3 separate regions of the Homo sapiens genome follow, and all the other regions are linked to region 1. The links are contacts of gene promoters, found by promoter capture Hi-C in blood cells and fetal thymus (Javierre and others, 2016). All regions are on one chromosome and are shown on one strand. Each heading gives the region's core, a stretch centred on a gene start or on the middle of the fragment in contact. The rest is flanking DNA. Distances are from core to core; before and after follow the strand shown. Region 1 holds the start of LBH (LBH regulator of Wnt signaling pathway). Region 2 has its middle 90 kb from the start of EHD3. Region 3 overlaps EHD3 (EH domain containing 3).

Region 1 (2,969 bases), core at 277-2,776:
AGCCCCTCCATCAGGCAACACCCCCAGAGGAAGAGAATGCGTTTAGCTTGGGAGGTGGGGGAATTTCTCTGGTTGGAGGGGGCAGCCAGGGGCTTGTCATGAAGCTGTGTTTTCATAGGAAGCACACTATTTTAACTCAGGTTGTACATATAAGCATATAAGTGATTGAAAATAGCCCAGTTATTTTTAAATAAATTATTCTCATCAATTCTTATAATTTTTGTTTGGGCTGGTTTTGCGGGGACTGATGAAAATTATGAGGGTCTTCTCTCACGGCTTCCTTCAGGGTCCTACCCCTGTCGAACCTTCGCCATTAATTCTGTCATCCTTTTGCCTGAGATAAGCTATGCGTTTCCACTTTCAAGTACATATATACGGATTCAATACACTCACTGCCTTTCTTTTAAAAAGCTGATTCACTTCAAAGCCAATTTAATTTTGCTTAGTTTTTGATCTCCCCGCGCCCCCTTTCCTCAGCCCCTATACACAGGTAGGTGAGGGTTCTAAAGCCATTTTACAGGCGTGATTGAAGCGGAGGCCACAGAGCGGCAGCGCTGGGTCCCGAGTGAGACTCCCATCATGTGGCTCTGGGGGGCTGCGCAGCTTTGACTGCCTGGACAGACGCCCAGAGCTGCAATTCCTGGGCAGTGTGGGAGGCGTTCGGCTAAAGCTCTTTGTTTCTGCTGTCATGAGCGACTCCTCGGAGAAGACGTGGGAGTCAAGGATGGGGGGCGGCGTGCACACCGCCCGCCCACACCTTCTGCCCCCGCTGCAGACCGGGCGTATGTGTGTCTCCAATGGAAAAATCCTACCCAGGACGACACCACATCCTTGCTCCCACAAATAAAACCTTCCACGGAACTCAGGGCTGCAGACCAGCCCTTCGCAAGCCAACGCGCCCCGTGGGCACTCGGTCCCCCGGCTCCGCGTCTCTGCCACCTTCCCACCGCTTCTTCTTTAACCATGCTCTTGTTTCCCCTCGCTGATCGCAAGGCTGCGGGCGAGGATTCCAGAGAGAGGCCTAGTATGGGGAACAAACGCTTCAGAGGGGTCCGAGGTGGGCTGGGGACAGCCAGTGGATGGGAAGGAGGGCGCTGGCGCCGGGCGGCTGGGGTGGAGGAGTGGCGGGTGCCCTACCCCGGCGCAGAGCAGCCGCCGAGCTGTCATGTCCCGAGCGGCCCCCGCGCCCTCCTTGCGCCCACCTCCGCCGCGCTGGAGTTCGGGGTGTGCGTGGAGGGGGCTGTGAGCGGGAAGCGGCGCGGACGCGGAGTCCGGGCCGGTGCGAGTGAGCGCGTGTGCGCGTGGGAGAGCGGCGGGAGGGGGCCGGGCTCGCAGCCGCAGCGAACCACGGCCCCGGGAGCAGAGCCGAGCGCGCCCCCGAGCCGCCGCCCGCCGGAGCTGCGAGCGCTGAAGCCATTCATGATTTTGGTGACGTTATTCCAGGAGTGGGCGAGGGAGGGCGGGGCCTCTCGGGGCCAAGCCCCGCCCCCGCCCCTATAAATACGGCTTCCCGGGCTCTTTGTGGGGCTGAGTGCTCAGTGGAGAGCGGGGAGTTGTGTCCACCTTGCCGACGTCGCTAGCCGTGGGGCTGTCCTGGGAAGGCGGACGGCGAGCGCCCGGTGTCCGCACTCGGCCGCCTGCCGTGCCCGTCTGCGCCCGTGTCATCCTCACTCGGGACGCAGGGACCGTTTTTAAATCACAGGGGCGTGTGTCAGCCTGCCCTAGGACTTCATGTCTATATATTTCCCCATTCACTGGTGAGTACCCTGCGCCTGCGGCGGGCGTCTGTCTCGCGGCGGTGGCTGCGGGCCCGGGCGCCTGCTTCGTGCCGGCTCCGGGTGCGAGGGCAGCCGGCGGCGCGGGCGCTCAGCGCTAACCCGCCGCCCGAGCCCGTGCAGGAGTCAACGTCAAGGTTGCAAAGGTGGGGGTGGGGGGAGGGGGTGCTGAGAACATCCAGACAAAGGACGTGAACTCGGAGCCCTCACCTAAGTGACGGCCGGAGGGTTTGTATTGGTTGGCGGGGGAGCCAGGGGTCACGTGTGAATCCCCCCCAATGAAACCACCCTATGCGGAGAGCTGCAGGAGGCGCGCGCCCCACTTGGCGCAGGGGGGCTCCTGCTCTTCCCGGGCCCCTCCTCTTTTTCTTTTTGTTTGCATGCAAGTCTCAACGTCGAGGCCGGCAGCAGCGGGGCTGAGCTGGTGCGGCCGCAGGGTTTGCAGAGCTCCGGGGGGGTGGGGGGCGGGAAACGCTCTCCCCACACGTAACCCCACTAAAGCCACAAGCAGCAGGGCACGCGCTGCAGCCTCTCAACCCCTGCCCTCTCCACCGCCCCTAAAAACCGACGCACATTGGTGGGGGCCGGGACTGGGAGGAGCCGCCTTCGCCGTGCTGAAGGGGAAGGAGCCCGGGCCGGGCGCGGGGCGTCGGAGGTTTGCCCCGGACTGGGGATCGGAGCCGGGAGGGATGCAGAGAGAGGCAGGCCCCTGACTGCTGGGACTTCCTTGCTGGCAGTTTCTTCCTTCCTGCTCTGGGTTAGAGGAGAAGCGGCCGGGGGCGAGCGCCGGCAGCCCCGGAGCGCGCTCTCAGGTGCGGACGTGGGGAGCTCGGCCCCGAGTCTCCGGCAGGCGCTGAGCGAAGGGAAAACCGGCGCAAGCCGCGGCGGGGTCCGGCCTGGCCCAAGAAGCGGAAAGTTCATGCTTCTCGCTTCAACTTTTCGGGCCGGCGCCACAGCCCCGAGCGAGGAAGAGCCGCCCCTACGTCAGACTCTTCACCCTGCGTGCGCTCTTCTGGCTCCTTTCTTTGGAGGTCGCCAGCAGCCTTTCCAAGACCCGGGAGGAAACTGCCTTTGCAGGGCCCAGCTCCCGAACCTAAACTTGCCGCAAAGCCCCGCATCTTCTGTTAGTCTCCCTGCCCCCATCCGTCCCAGCCTGGCAGTGTTTAGAGAGGGGACTGAACTTCCCTCTCTCAA
Region 2 (2,969 bases), core at 162-2,661, 1.1 Mb after region 1:
AACAGAAGCTCCTGCACTTAGGACCCTTCAGACCTTTTCCTATGTTCCCTATATGCCTGGAACTCATCTGGTTGCTCATTTGCATCCTTTATAATAAGCTGGTCAATGTAAGTAAAGTGCATTCCTGAGTTCTGTGAGCTGTCCTGGCAAACTATCAAACATGAGGAGAGAGGCATGGGAACCCCTATTTATAGCCAGTTGGCCAGAAGTACAGGAGGCCTGGCACTGAAGCAGGGGCAGTCTTATGAGACTGAGCCATTAGGCTGTGAGGTCTGTGATAACTCCAGGTAGTTAGTGTCAGAATTGATCTGAACTGTTGGACACTCTGGTGTCCAGAGAATCAGAGAATCGGTTGTAGTGTTGGAAAGCACCCTATGTAGAGTACCCATGAAGAGGGGAGAGAAAAAACTATTCATTAGCCTGTGGAAGCAGCAAGAAAGCATTGTATCTACTCAGAGTTCTTGGGAAGAAAAGAAAACAAAAAGTTTATATGAAAAATCAAAATTCCAGGTGTGGGGTCTATATTTACCCAGCACACATGGTAGAAGCTCACCTTTGAACTGATAAAAAGGCAATAAAAGCACAGAAGACACATGTGCTCTATAGGGAATCGTTCCCCAACCCACAGAGCACAAGTTCACCACAGGAAACGGAACACTCATTGAGAATAAGCTTATAATGAAAAAAAAATGATCTATGTGAATAAATATTCCACATTGAAGGAAAGAATTAGACTATGAGAACTTGTAAAATCTGTTAAAAATAAATTGTACTTAAAATGTTAGAAAACACTTCTGTGAAGTTCTTACTACATGGTAAGCATTGTTCTAAGCATTTTACTTGTTTTAAAGAGATGAAAGAAGGAGTAGAACACAATGATAAAATACAATAAATGGAAAAGGAAATAGTGTCGATCATCACATACGAAGCACTACCAAAATTCCCCATGCACTGGCACTTGGTAGAGCTACATGACTTGTTCTGGCCAGTGGTCTGTGGCAGGTGGTGCTGCGTGTTAATTCCAATATTGGCCATAGGATAGCTAATGTGACATCCTCCAGATGTCCGTTTCCCTGTTGCAGACACCCAGTAAGCCTCATATTCCAGGTAGTGCAACTGCTAGATGATGGAGCCTCTTTCGTCCTTGGTCTCTGAGTGACCGTGTAGAACAGACCCCACCAAAATCCACTGGGTACAAAGGAGTGAGAAATAAACTATTGCTGTATTCAATCATGGAGATTGGGAAATTTGGGATTATTTTCTTTCTGTAGCATAACCTAGTCTGTACTAACTCAAGTGAATGTGAAAAAAAATCAGAATGTATGAAAATAAAAGTAAAGAAACTAAGACTAAAAACTCGATTTACTTAAACATGAAAATAGACAGAGTTGAAGAGATCATTAAATAATTGAAATGTAGACCTAGGAAATTACCCAGAAAGCACCACAGAGATAGAGATGAGAAATATGAGGCCTAAAGATACATGGAGGATAGAATTAGAAGTTTCAGTACAAATCTATTTAGAAGTTAAGGAAAGAAAGGATAGAGAGAATGGAGGAGAAATAATGTTGCAATAAATAAGGGCTTAGAATTTTCCAGACTTGAAAACAAGTTCTCAGGATAAAGAAGCATGGTGAATTCCAAGAATAATAGGTAAAAAGTTAATCCATGCCTAGACAACAGAACACCTTAAAATAGAATACTTTAACAGAAGAAAAACAGCCAGAGAAGAGATAGTGCCTGCAAAAGAAAGACAATTACGCTGGCATCAGAAAAATACATTCCAAGGGTTTGGGAAATATAACTACTCAGCTAAATCAATAGCAGCTAATTCAGCAAAATCATCATTTATGAATGAGGGCAAAATAAAGCCTTTTTTTTTTTTAACAAAAAGAGACAGAGCTTGCCATTCACAAACTCTGGCTGAAAAACTATGAAAGCGTGTGTTTCTAAAAGAAGGAAATTGAAGCCAGAAGGAGGGAGTGGAATAAGAAAGCAATAACGAGAAAAACAAAGGTAAGCGTATGAGTAAAACTAAATATTTGCCTGTACAAGAATAACAACAATGACTAATCAGAGTGTTAAAGTGAAACTGAAACACTTGATTATAGCCACACGGAGGAAGAGAGGGGAAAATCAATTAATGCATTCTAAGCTTCTCATCCTGTTTGGTGACAACATAGAAATATTAATTAAACATAGGCTTTGCTGAATCAAGTGTGCATGCTAAAAATACAGAGATGACTTCTAAAAGAATAGAAATAGGATGTAGAAGCACGAAACTCATATAAAGAATGAGGTGGGGAGAATGGTGGGGCAGGGGAAGGGTCGGGGGACAGGGATGCTTGATTAAGCCAACAGCAGACAATGAGAAAAAGAGAAAGAACATGGTCAGTAGTGACACACCAAATGAGATGATAGAAATGTCAAAATAGGCTATTAATCACAATTAATGTAAACACATTGTTTTGCCAGTTAAAAGAGAAATATCCTTAGATTGCATTTAAACACACACGTCCATCATGCATGCTATTCATAAGAGGCCAAACCATACACAAACTATGTGTATTATTTATTAGAGACTCAATAAAACGTGACACGAACAGTTGAAAATAAAGAAATGGGGAAGGTATGCTCCAAAATTCCAGTGTGGGCTATGTGCCTTAGAGGAAAGCTCTCATGCATTGCAGAAGGAGGCATGTTCAAAATTGTTCGCTACATTGAAAAGGGAAGATGATAAACAGCATAAACATCCAATGGTATGGGGATAAAAAAATTAATGTTGGCATGTAATAAAGCACCATGTAATGGATAAATGGCTAAACCAGATCAAATGGGCCCAGATGAATAAATATTAGAAGCATAACATTGAGTAGAAACAAGGAATTGCAGAAGGCTATCACAATATGATATCATGAATGTAGATCTTTTCCAAAGGAAACTTTTTATTGAAGAATGATATATATACA
Region 3 (2,969 bases), core at 284-2,783, 1.0 Mb after region 1:
GCTGAGAAAATTGAGGTTCAGATTTGCCAAATAAATGAGAAAGCTAATCCTATACCATACCCTTTTTCTTACTGGGTCCAGTCCATACCTTTGAGATACCGCCATTCCTAGATCTGCACCTAAGTCCAGGCCAAGTGAACAACTAAATATCCACCCTACAGATGACACAGCCTCGGGGTTAGCCAGGAGCAGGGAAGTCGAGCTTCAGAGCAACCCATGGAGTCATTGCTTGATGGTCATGGTCTTCACAGCCACACCTGGCTGGAAGCTTCTGGCATTACTGAGTCTGTAATTGGATAGCAGCTTTCCAGAGCAAATAGGAGGCCTCTGCTTATAAAATCACGGAAAGAGTTCCCAGAAGCCCTTGGCCTGTCCTCAGGCAGAGGCAGACTTCACACAGGCATCCCCGAGGCCTGTAAGACAGCAGCCTGCAGCCTCTCTCTCTTGCTGTGCCTGCAAAGGGTCCCTTGTAGCTAATCTCCATCCATCCTGTTGTACTCCCCACCCTCACACCTCTGGTCTCAGATGCAGAGAATTGTGAACCGAGAAAGGAAGCTCGGAGGTTGTCCAGCTCAATCCCCTGATTTGACAGGCAAAGAGACAGAGGACTAGAGAGGGGAGATTCTTGCCCAAGGACACACAGTAAGTTAGTGGCTAAGCGGAAACGAGAGGTGGACTCACCCAGGCCAGTGCTCCTCTGGTGACTCCTACAGAGCACATCCCATCTCATAGAAACTAGGGCTTAAAAGGAGTGCTTTACAAAAAACAGCAGGGCAATGAGAACAGCCAAGGTCACAGCTCAGCAGTTTCACCTGCATCCTCTGATTTGTTTAGATCCTCACAATAACCCTACGACTGAGTCACTGATTCCTCAACCATAAAACTGAGGCCCAGAGATTACTCATTTACTGTCTCCCAGATGCCAAACGTGGAACAGGTTTCCACGTTTTCCACGTTTCACTTCCGTTCAGCAAATACTGATAGTGCACCTGCTGTGTGCCACACACCGTGCTGGGTGCAGGGGAAGCCCAGAAGGGTGAGGTGCTGCCCCTGCCCTGTCCAGCTCCCAGTGCACCGAGGATGATTTCAGTGAGCTGAAGAGCAGAACAGGAGCGTGCATGATGCTACAAGACCACTGAGGGCAGGGACAGGGATAGGCAGGGGTCTATCCTGTTCTGGCAGCATGGACATATTGCTGCCCCTCAGCCTTTGCAGACACAGCCTTCTCTTACATCGCTGGTGTCATCAGGGATTGCAGCAAGTTGCAGGGACAGAGCCTCTTCCCTTCTCTGCAGCTTCTCTGGTGTCTTTGTTTTCCCCAGCCTGGTGGAGGCGTGGCTACAGTGCAAGAGTTGAGTTTGGAGTTCAGGTCTTGGCTCTGACCCCCAGCATTGCATGGCCTTGGGCCTTTCTCTCACCCTCTATAAACCTCCATTACCTTGTCAGCATAGGACTCAACACTGGCTGCCCTGGCTGCCTTAGCCTGTTCTGAGCCATTGAGCCAATATATTGGGGCTGAGATTTGCTGGACAGGTGAGAGGGAGCTGCAGCCCAGTCTTGGTCCTCCCAGCAGCCCCTCCTGTGGCCTGCACTGGCACAGCTAAAATCCAGATTGGGGAATAAGGAGCAGCAGAAGGCCAGAGGCCTGGCAGGGAGTTGTGGAGGGTCCCTACTGCCCTCCTGCTGTGAGCTGTTTGCAGAGGTGGGGGTTGGGGATTTTCTTAGCCCTCTGGCCCCTCCCTACCCACAGCTCTGAGGGACTGCCTTTGGGAGGTGACAGCAGCCTTGCCATGCGCTGTGCTGAAGGGAAGATAAAAATAGGCTGGAGCCATCCCTGGGAAGGGAAGGATGGACAGAGGGATGTAGGAAGGAGGGGAGTAGTGCGGGCTGCAGGCTTCACCTGAAGTGGGAATGCTTAGGCTTCCCGGGCTCCAGTGAGGAGCTGGCTGTGCCTGCGTGCCAGGGAGGGAGGGAGGGAGGCAGGGAGCGGCCAGGTGCAGAACGGCTGGATGGCTGACAGCTGGGTCATCTGGCCTCACGACTTGCCAACTGTTTGACTCTCTCCTCTCTGAACCTCAGTTTCCTCCCCTGGAAGTGAGAACGATACTCCTCGCGCTGCCTGCCTCAGAGCGTGTCGTGAGGGTGACATGAGATAATGACATGAACATCTTACCGTCTGCAGCAAGCACTGAACTTCGAGTTGGAGGCTAGGGGTCGTGTCTCATGGGTGGTATTGGCTGAGTCACTTAACTCCTAGAGTTTGCGTGAACATCTCCGAGGGAGGGTTGATGATGCCCCTGCCCACTGGGCAGAGCAGCCTCTGAAGCACTTTCCTGGGCCTTGTCTCTGAGCCGAGACAGGACACCTGTGTTCAAAAGAGAAGGCAAAATCTAGTTCACACCAGGCCCTCGATGACGCACCCATCAGGAACTATCCTCAGGATGGCACCTGGAGATACTGGGCCAGCTCTGCCCCTTCCTGAGCCTCAGTTTCCCTATCTGTAAATCAGGAAGTTGGACCATTGATGGCTAAGCTCCTCGTAGCCTCATAGGTCTACGCCACAGGAGCAGGGGGAGAAGGCTCAGGTGTTAGTTGAGCTGTATATTCATTGAGCAGCTGACAGATCTTGGAGAAAATCACATGGCAATGGGAATGCTTGGAAGCACTTCATTTACCAAAGACAGAGGAGCTGAAAATGGAGTAGTACTGGCATCCGGGTAACCAAAGGAGGGTTTGACCTTCCTTTGTTTGTTAGAATTCTCTTACAGCCACCAGGGAAACATTACAGGGGTCCTCCAGGAAGCTTTAGGGCAGCAAGTTTTCCCGACCGTCTGATCCCATCCCCCTACCCCCTGTGGCAGTGCCTCCACACGTCCTAAATATGTACCCCACTGGGTGTTCACTAGATGCCACAGGGTGGGGGAAAGGCTTTTTAAACCTAGCTCCGTTGGCTCCATTCATCCTCATCC

What was found. Contacts are between HindIII fragments. The CHiCAGO score rates a contact against its expected background, and 5 or more counts as called.
Region 2: a contact is called between a fragment that was not itself captured here and the fragment with the promoter of LBH in region 1, in 1 of 17 cell types (fetal thymus). The highest score is 8.6, in fetal thymus.
Region 3: a fragment that was not itself captured here is called in contact with the fragment with the promoter of LBH in region 1 in 1 of 17 cell types (naive B cells); the score reaches 5.3 in naive B cells.

What each region holds. Positions count from the first base shown.
Region 1 is chr2:30,230,008-30,232,976 of GRCh38, forward strand. It overlaps LBH (LBH regulator of Wnt signaling pathway), which reads left to right and starts at 1,527. Exons shown (of 3, transcript NM_030915.4): 1 at 1,527-1,757. The coding sequence starts at 1,732. RefSeq lists enhancers at 193-708, 709-1,223 and silencers at 1,027-1,576, 1,777-1,866, 2,257-2,456, 2,467-2,526. The HindIII fragment of the contact is 3,135 bases long and covers 1-2,969 here.
Region 2 is chr2:31,322,381-31,325,349 of GRCh38, forward strand. No RefSeq gene overlaps it. Among named protein-coding and RNA genes, the nearest start is that of EHD3, 90 kb to the left of the region's middle. The HindIII fragment of the contact is 1,483 bases long and covers 671-2,153 here.
Region 3 is chr2:31,255,483-31,258,451 of GRCh38, forward strand. The region is part of intron 3 of EHD3 (EH domain containing 3); the gene reads left to right. LOC124905983 (a long non-coding RNA gene) reads right to left here. Exons shown (of 4, transcript XR_007086270.1): 2 at 2,174-2,365. Among named protein-coding and RNA genes, the nearest start is that of EHD3, 23 kb to the left of the region's middle. RefSeq lists enhancers at 725-1,552, 1,638-1,687. The HindIII fragment of the contact is 2,535 bases long and covers 267-2,801 here.